2 separate regions of the Homo sapiens genome follow, and region 2 is linked to region 1. Evidence: promoter capture Hi-C in 16 types of primary human blood cells and fetal thymus (Javierre and others, 2016). All regions are on one chromosome and are shown on one strand. The core of a region is centred on a gene start or on the middle of the fragment in contact, and the rest is flanking DNA. Distances in the headings are between cores, read along the strand shown.

Region 1 (3,968 bases), core at 132-2,631:
ACTGTCAGCAACTATACCTGTTATACAGGGACAGGGTTATTACCACCACCAAACAGGACAGCAATATAAGAGGAAACGTTCTCGAATTCCAGGCAGGAAGACTTTCTGTCCCATTTTCCTATTGCCACAAGGAGCCAAGAGACAAGTGTATGGCTTCCTTCCTTCATTCTCTGTGTCCCCAGTGGCCAGGGATGCCCACTGTGGAGGCACCCGGGGGCGCACAGTGTCTTCAGACGCCTGCCTGCAGCCAGTGACATATGAAGATCATCTACATCTTTCTTTACCGCAACATTAGCAAATCGATTTTTTTAATTGGCTTGATTTTTAAAACCACTTAAACATACAAACTAGCATCAAATTTATACTTACAAAACAAAAAAACACAACTATGTCAACTTAGTAACGAATGGGAGAAGCACCAAGGAAAAGTGACGGCAGGACCCAATCCTAGAGCGCGTTTCTGGACTTTATTCTGTGACTAAGGTATTTTCCTCTTTCTCAGCTAAAACGTCCGCGCGCGCCCGCGGGGCTCACCTTCCAAACAAGCAGGTGCTGAGGCTCAGGGGAAAGTGGGGACCGTCGACCCCGCTCCTTTTGATAGTAACCAGGCGTCTCGTGGGCCACATTTTCTAAACAGTAAGTTGAGTATAATCCGTAGGGGAAGGCCAGGTATAATCCGTAGGGGAAGGCCAGAAGCAAATTTACAACTCTTCCACTGCAAAAGAGGTGCGAGTTACTCTGATAGCAAAGGAGCTAAGAAGGGCCCCGTGCCCAATTCACCTATCCCCGGCCACAGAAGCGCACACCGCAGCTAGCTAGCGGGGACCCCAGGACGATCCGACCGCAGCCCCCGGCGCCCCAAAGTCCGGCAGCTGGGGTGTTGTCGCCAGCGCCTGCGCCTCCTGGGAGCTTCCACCGAGACGCCCTCGCCAGAGCCCAGGAGGAGTCGGGCCCAGGCCGCGCGTCTGTCCCCTGCCCGTCCCCGCAGAGCTCGGGGGGTCCCCGCGGCTCAGCCCTCGACCCCGGACAGCTCCCAGGAGTCCCGGCCGCAGCTCACCTGGGACGATCCGGCCCGCAAGGCCACTTGTCGAACCACCGCTCGTCAAGTCGCACCCAAAGTCCGCCGCAGGAGGAGCCGGCGCCGCGCTCACCTCCGCCCGGTAAGCTGCGCCCGCCACGCTCCGCACACACCGGGCCGCAGCCCGCGGGGTCGCGTTCGCTGCACCCCGGCCTGCAGTCCCCGCTGCTCCCGCCGCCGCCTCTGACGGGGACCCGGTGGCCCTACAGGCTACGTCCCCGGGCGCCCGGCTCTAGCGGCTCCCACCGAGTCGAGTCCTCCCGCCCGCCCGCCCGCCCGCAGCGTCAGCCCTCCACTTCCTTCTTCCAGCCCGGCGCGCCCGCCCAATTCAAACGAAAACGAAGATTCAAATTCTGGCGCTAAGCGCTGCGATTGAACGGGAAAGCGCGGCATGGGACCAATAGGAAGGGAGCGCAGGGCGTGGGCGGGGAGGGGGCGGGGAAACCGGGCTCGCGGGGCGGGGCTGGCGTGTCCGCGGGCGAGCCACTCACGCATCCGGAGGAAAATACCTGGGTGCATCCCCGGCGAGGGCGGCTGGCGGAGGGCAGAGGTGGAACACGCTCCCACCGAGATAACCCGTCCTGCTATCCTTTTCTTAAAGGACCAAACATCTGGGACACTATAACATTACTCATTGCCAGAAGATTTAAAACTGCTAAAAATTAAAAACAGGCGGGACGCGGTGGCTCACGCCGGTAATCCCCGCACTTTGGGAAGCTGAAGCAGGAAGATCCCTTGAGCCCGGGAGTTCAGAACCAGCCTGGGCCACCTGGAGAGAACCCATCTCTACAAAAAATTCGCCAGGCGTGGTGGCGCCCCTGTAGTTCTAGCTACTGGGACAGCTGAGGTGGGAGGATCGCTTGAGCCGGGGCGGTCGAGGCTGCAGTGAGCTGAGATCGCGCCACTGCACTCCAGCCTGGGCGACAGAGCAAAGCCCTGTCTCAAAAAAAAAAAAAAAAAAAAAAAAAAAATCGAAACCTTCCTCTTCAGTGCATACATCTTACCAAACACAAAAACAACCAATTATATAAAGTAGTTTGGTGTGTCTTTTCCTGCTATACGTGTATTCTCTTTTTCAAAAGCACAGAAAAAAAGGTCATAACATACACAACACGATTCTATACTTTGTGCTCTCTGCTTTTAAATATCCTGAGGCTATCTCCACTGAACACATTCTCGCTTTTACTCTCTGATGGCTGCAGAGCACTGGGCTTCGGGAAACCATAATTTACTTAATCATTACTATTGCCACATACTTAGGTTTACAATGTTTTGTTATTAGAAAACATTCTTCAATTGAAATGGCTTGTGCATGCCAAGATGGGTGAATCCTAAAATAATTCTACACAGGATTCTATCGGGGTCTGCTTCAGTTGCGCTGGTGGCCATGTGGGCTCAGTAGGCCACCTGGGGTGAAGTGAATGGAGCCTAAACACGCTTTTGGTGACAACGGCCTCTCTGCCCCATCTCACCTCCTCCAGCTCCCCAGCAACCCTTGGAGCTTGGCTCCCTTGATCAGGGAGGCCTCGATGCAGGGGACCCCTGAGGACTTCCTATTCCTTTCAGAGAGTCCATAAGGTCAAAACCATTTATCTAATGACCCTCTGTGTTACTTGCCCTTCTCATTCTCATGCTCCCAAGAGTGTGGGGTGTGGTTCTGCAAATGCAGAAGCAGTGAGGAGACTCCCACTGTCTCCGTTTCAACCAGGTATTACAGAGATTTGCAAAAATGTGAACTAAAGCGCTGTTTTCATTTTGTTGTTTTTTTTCCATAAAAATAAGTTATTGGTGTTAGCATGAAATAGGTGCATCACTATCTTAAAATGAATCAATAAATGAATATTTTTAAATTCCTTAGCCTTAACTTAAAATATATAAATATAGCTAGATATAACCCATCCACATTAACAAAAATTCCTGGTGGTTCTCAATAATTCTTAAGAGTGTAAAGGGACCACAAGATTGAAAAGACTGAGCCCTCTGCTCTAGAGCAACTACAAAGATATCAGCTGCTGATGGAAATAGAGAAACTGGGAAAGCAACATAAAAGCACAGGACAGCAACTCTAAATTGTATGGGCCAAGTCTGACGTAGAAAAATTCAGTGCGGGGATACTATTATATAAACGTTTTAGGGGGCATGAGTTTCCATGTTTTCCCCCATTAAACGATCAAACAAAGCCCACCACTGCATAACCCCATAAAACACAACTTTTCTCATCCTAATTACTGCTTGTTTCCAGAGACAGTTCTTCCACCCTCATGGATGCAGCCTAATTAGAACTAGAAGGTGCTAGGCCAGGCGCAGGGGCTCATGCTTGTAATCCCAGCACTTTGGGAGGCCAAGGTGGGTGGATCATGAGGTCAGGAATTCAAGACCAGACTGACCAATATGGTGAAACCCCATCTCTACTAAAAATACAAAAATTAGTCGGGTGTAGTGGCACACGCCTGTAGTCCCAGCTACTCGGAAGGCTGAGGCAGGAGAATCACTTGAACCCGGGAGGCAGTGGTTGCAGTAAGCCAAGGTCACGCCACTGCGCTTCAGCCTGGGCAACAGAGCGAGACTCCATCAAAAAAAAAAAATAGAAAAGAGAGAGAGACAGAAAGAAAGAACGAAGGAAAGAAAGAAAGAAAAAGAAAGAAAGAAAGAGAGAGAGAAGAAAAAGAGAGGAGAAAAAGAAAGAAAGAGAGAAGAAAAAGGAAGAAAGAAAGAAAAACATTTTGAGTTACTTCTTTGAAACATTTTGAGTTACTTCTTTTCTGTTGTTGCTGTTGTTGTTTTTCTTTTTTGAGATGAAGTCTCACTCTGTCCCCCGGGCTGGAGTGCAGTGGTGCAATCTCTGCTTACTGCAACCTCCGCCTCCCAGGTTCAAGCGATTCTCCTGCCT
Region 2 (4,366 bases), core at 1,822-4,321, 260 kb before region 1:
GCATACTTCTGCAGAAGTAAATTTGCCTTCTTGAGAAATCCTTTGTTTGAGTGCTCATTTTCCTTGTGACTCCGAGCTCTTGTTTCTAACAGTTTCCTTGGTGTCTTCTTTCTGTTCAAGTTCCTTATGCTCTCCTTAGGTGAAAAGAGCCTTAACCCCCAAAATGCAGAAAACTTCCGGGACCATCTTGGAAGACACCACTTGACACTAGAAATTGTGGTGAATTAACAAGGGGGAGGCCATGCTGTATGGATCACAGTTTCAGCCAACATTTGCCCCAAAATTAGTGATTTCAATGGTCTCATTTTATCCTGGTGATAACCTCTATGGTAAGAGGTGGTTTGTGTTATTGTTCTTGTAACCAAGTACCCCCATTTTTTCTAAGAGATAGTTTAATTATTCTTTCCTCTTTCTTTTTCTCTTTTCTCCTTTTCCACACTTCCTACTTCCTACTTAGCCCTTTAGAAATGCATATATAGCCTTTTTTACCTCCTTTTATTAGACACTCCCTACAGGGCAAGTTCATCTAACTATGTGCTTGGGAGCTTCAGAAGGGAACTCACCCACCAAGAAGTTGCCTCAAGAGATAACAGTAGATTTACAACTCAAAGTATGCATGCCCACGAAGACACCAGCCATCACTAGCTTGACTGCATCTACCAAGCTAACACATGGGCCCCAAAACTGCTCACTTCCCCCACTCCTGCCTCCTTGGACTCCCCGATAGCCCGCCTACCACATGCCGTTCATGTTAGGCCTCCCTTACAAGTGTTCACTTTCTTCTCCAAAAGCTAAATGGTACCCTTAGGCAGGAAGCTTATACTTATTCCCTTAAGCCAGCTTTAGAGTGAAAAAGCTACTTTCTTTATACCAGACCTCACTCTTGTTAACTGGATTCTACAAGTGATGAGCAACTGGACCAGCATTTTAGTCACATGCTCTCAGTTTTGCAGTTGAAATCAAACCCCCAGCAAGCTTTGCAATTCCAAGTTTACCCCTTTCCTATGATTCTGGCTAATGCTCTAAAACCTCCAGACCTTATGAAAAGTGAATTAATTTTCCCCATTTTCTGTTCTCTTCCTTTTTAAAAAGGAAAACGTTGAATATTGTTGCTAAATATAAAAGTAATGCATGCTAATTATGACATCATAAGAAATGCATAGTTGGTCTCTGTCCCTGGTTCCTGACACAAGCTCCTGAACTGCAAGAAATAAATTTCTGTTGGTTATTTATACTTTCCTGTGTGATAGGGGTGATAGGTGCATCTTTTGTTATAATATTTGGTCTCCGTCCTTCATTCCTAACACAAGAACTTCTAAGACCCTTGGAATCTCCAGAGTGATAAGTGTCTTTTCTCTACTAATGAGATGACTGCTGGCTGGGAGCCCATAGGGTCGCTTCGGGATAGGGGTGGGTCACCAGAAAGACCAAGGCCTGATGAGTGAATTAGGACTTTCAACCTCACCCCCAGCCTCCAGAGAGGGGAAAAGGGCTGGAGATTGACTTAATCATCAATGGCCAACGATTTAGTGATCATGCCTTCATCAATGAGGCCCCCAGAAAACCATCACATGATGGAGTTCAAAAAGCTTTCAGGTTGGTGAGCTCACCGAGGAGCTGGGAGGGTGCTGTGCCTGGAGACAGCATGGAAGCTTCTCTTTACCCTACCCCCTAGTACCTTGTCCTATGTGTCTCTGCCATTTGTTCCTAAGTTGTATCTTGGTAATAAACTGGTAATAGGGAGTAATGTGTTTCCCTTAATCTGTGAGTCATTACAGCAAATTATCAAACTAGAGGGGGGGAATGGGGGAACCTCTGATTTGCAGCCAAGATGGAGAGAAGTGTGGGTAACCTGGGGACCCACTACTTGTGATTGGTGTCTGAAGTGGGGCAGTCTTGGGAGGGTAAGCTCTTTAATTTGGGGAGTCTGCCCAGACTCCAGGTAGATAGTGTCAGAAGTGGATTAAATTGTAGGACACCCAGCTGGTGTCCCCACAGAATTGGGGAATTTGGTGTCGATAACTACACATTTGGTATTAGAAGCATTGTGTGAATATGGAGGACTTTTGTTTTAACAGGACAGTGTTAGGAAAAATTAAACCCAGTACGCCTCACCACCCAGAGGCACCTGTGTTAACAATCTCACTCCTGCCTTTTTCATACATCATATTGTACATATCATCTCCTCAAGCGTGATTTTCAGTTGCTTCGTCACATCCCATGCATGGATGTAACCACGTTCTCCACATCTCCAACTTCCATAACTGTCATTCTCCATAGAAACAGAGTAAAACATGGAAATTAGTTTCAAAGGCTTTATTAATATATAGATTCTTAGTTGCAAAATGGAGACCATCTTGGGATCTTAACCTTCCTTTGATAATATTGTTCCAATTGAGTTCTATGTTACAGCATAACAAAAACTAATTTAGAAACCTAACTGCAGGTTAGAAACAGTTCCTACTTACTATAGAAGACTGTTTACCTATTTCAATCATGTGACCATTCTCAAAACAGGTTTAGGAATTGCCTCAGAAGCCCAAGGTAGCAGCCTGAATGGAAGAAAACCTTCTTGCAGGTAGATTTATTTAGCCTTTGGAATCAGCCGATTCAGAACCAAGACTGTGACTGAGTTGTGGAATGTTACTTGGGGACAAGGCTCTCAAGGAAGGGGGCTGTTTTCCTGTGTGGCCTGGAAACTGGTTCAAACAGCAGTTCTCAAAGAGAATTCCCCAGGACAGGGGCCAGAATATCCTCCGCCTCCCACTTCCAGGACAATCGCCTAGTCGTCCTTCAAGCCTCAGTAAAAGGATCTCTTCCTCTAGGACGACTTTACTACTGACTCATCCAGATAATTCCTCCCTCCACTGGGCGCTTGTGGTACACTGTCCTTATTCCGCTACTGTCTTCATGTATTTCCACATTTCCAGCAGTCAGCATAGCAGCTCACCCAAGAAGGATGCCCATGCATTGTTGAAAGAAGGGATGGGGCCAGGAAGCTCAGCTAGGTGCTGTTACGTTCACGTAAAACTAGAATCAGCAAATTAGAAGTGGGTCATGGCCTTCTACAAATGAGTGTCTAAACAGCAGAGAAGCAAACTGAAAGAAAAAACAAGCAGCAAGAAAAGAGAGCATTTATCTAGAAAGGAAAAATCCAGAAACTAAACAAATACAGAGATCTGAGACCATTGTGTGTAGAGTCCAATAGTCCAATGGGCACACTAGTCATCTGGAAGCCACTGTCCTGGCAGAGGGTAGACCTGAGTGTTGCTGGTGACAAAGATAAATGGTCACCTTGGATCAAGATGAAGATGCAATTTAAACACAACCTAGTTTTTTTTTAAGTCTTCTGTAGTTTGAGGAGTCAATACAATTATTCCTCCCTCTTTCCTAGCCTGTTCTCCAGCATTTAAAGATAGAAACAAAGAAAATTATGGAATACATCAGTCTAAAACTAAACCTACAGGCAGGAGCCAGATCCTTTGGAGAGCATGCAACAAGCAGATTTCCTTCAAGATAAAATGAAGTATTTCATGCTACAGGGTTTTTGGGTGGCCCTCCCACTGGGAGCTTCTGCTACAACAGAACCTGGCTTGTGCATTTAAAACCTAAAAGCAGGAGGATTTACATTTGCCACACAGCTTGCTTCCAACACTACTGAACACACTTCCAGATGATGCAGGGAAAGCTCTTGAAGATTTTAAAAAAAAAAACATGTGATTACAAACTATTGTATAACTTTGAATTTTTATAAAGACATAACGGAGCCCTCACAAAACGAAAAGTTTGCCAGGCATGGTGGCTCATGCCTGTAATCCCAGCACTTCGGGAGGCTAAGGAGGGCGATCACCTGAGGTCAGGAGTTCAAGACCAGCCTAGCCAACATGGAGAAACACCACCTCTACTAAAAAATACAAAAAAAACTTAGCCAGGCATGATGTTGTGCACCTGTAATCCCAGCCACTCAGGGGGCTGAGGCAGGAGAATCACTTGAACCCAGGAGGCAGAGATTGCAGTGAGCCAAAATCATGCCACTGCACTCCACCCTGGGCAACAGAGCGAGACTCCATCTCACACACACAAAAAAAAGACAAGAAAAATTAATTCCAATTCAAAGAAAGAGTCCAGGGCTGGGCATTGTGGCTTATGCCTGTAATCTTAGCACTTTGAAAGGGCAATGAAGAAGGATAACTTGAGGCCAGGAGGTTGAAGCTGCAGTGAGCCATGATTGCACCACTGCATTCCAGCCTGGGTGACAGAGTGAGACTCTGTTGAAAAGAAGAGTCCAGAACAGTTATGGCCAACAGATGTATATTCAGCAACCTCACTCACTCTAAGAAGTCCAGCTTCAGGGAGTATATTTACA

What was found. The method cuts DNA at HindIII sites, captures the fragments that hold promoters and counts their contacts. A CHiCAGO score of 5 or more calls a contact.
Region 2: a fragment that was not itself captured here is called in contact with the fragment with the promoter of MKI67 in region 1 in 1 of 17 cell types (neutrophils); the score reaches 6.7 in neutrophils.

Annotation. Positions count from the first base shown.
Region 1 is chr10:128,125,042-128,129,009 of GRCh38, forward strand. It overlaps MKI67 (marker of proliferation Ki-67), which reads right to left and starts at 1,382. Exons shown (of 15, transcript NM_002417.5): 1 at 1,058-1,382; 2 at 535-715. The coding sequence starts at 626. RefSeq lists a silencer at 1,162-1,531 and an enhancer at 1,642-1,871. The HindIII fragment of the contact is 8,920 bases long and covers 1-3,968 here.
Region 2 is chr10:127,863,612-127,867,977 of GRCh38, forward strand. It overlaps the pseudogene BUB1P1. Among named protein-coding and RNA genes, the nearest start is that of CLRN3, 27 kb to the right of the region's middle. RefSeq lists an enhancer at 1-122. The HindIII fragment of the contact is 2,842 bases long and covers 1,651-4,366 here.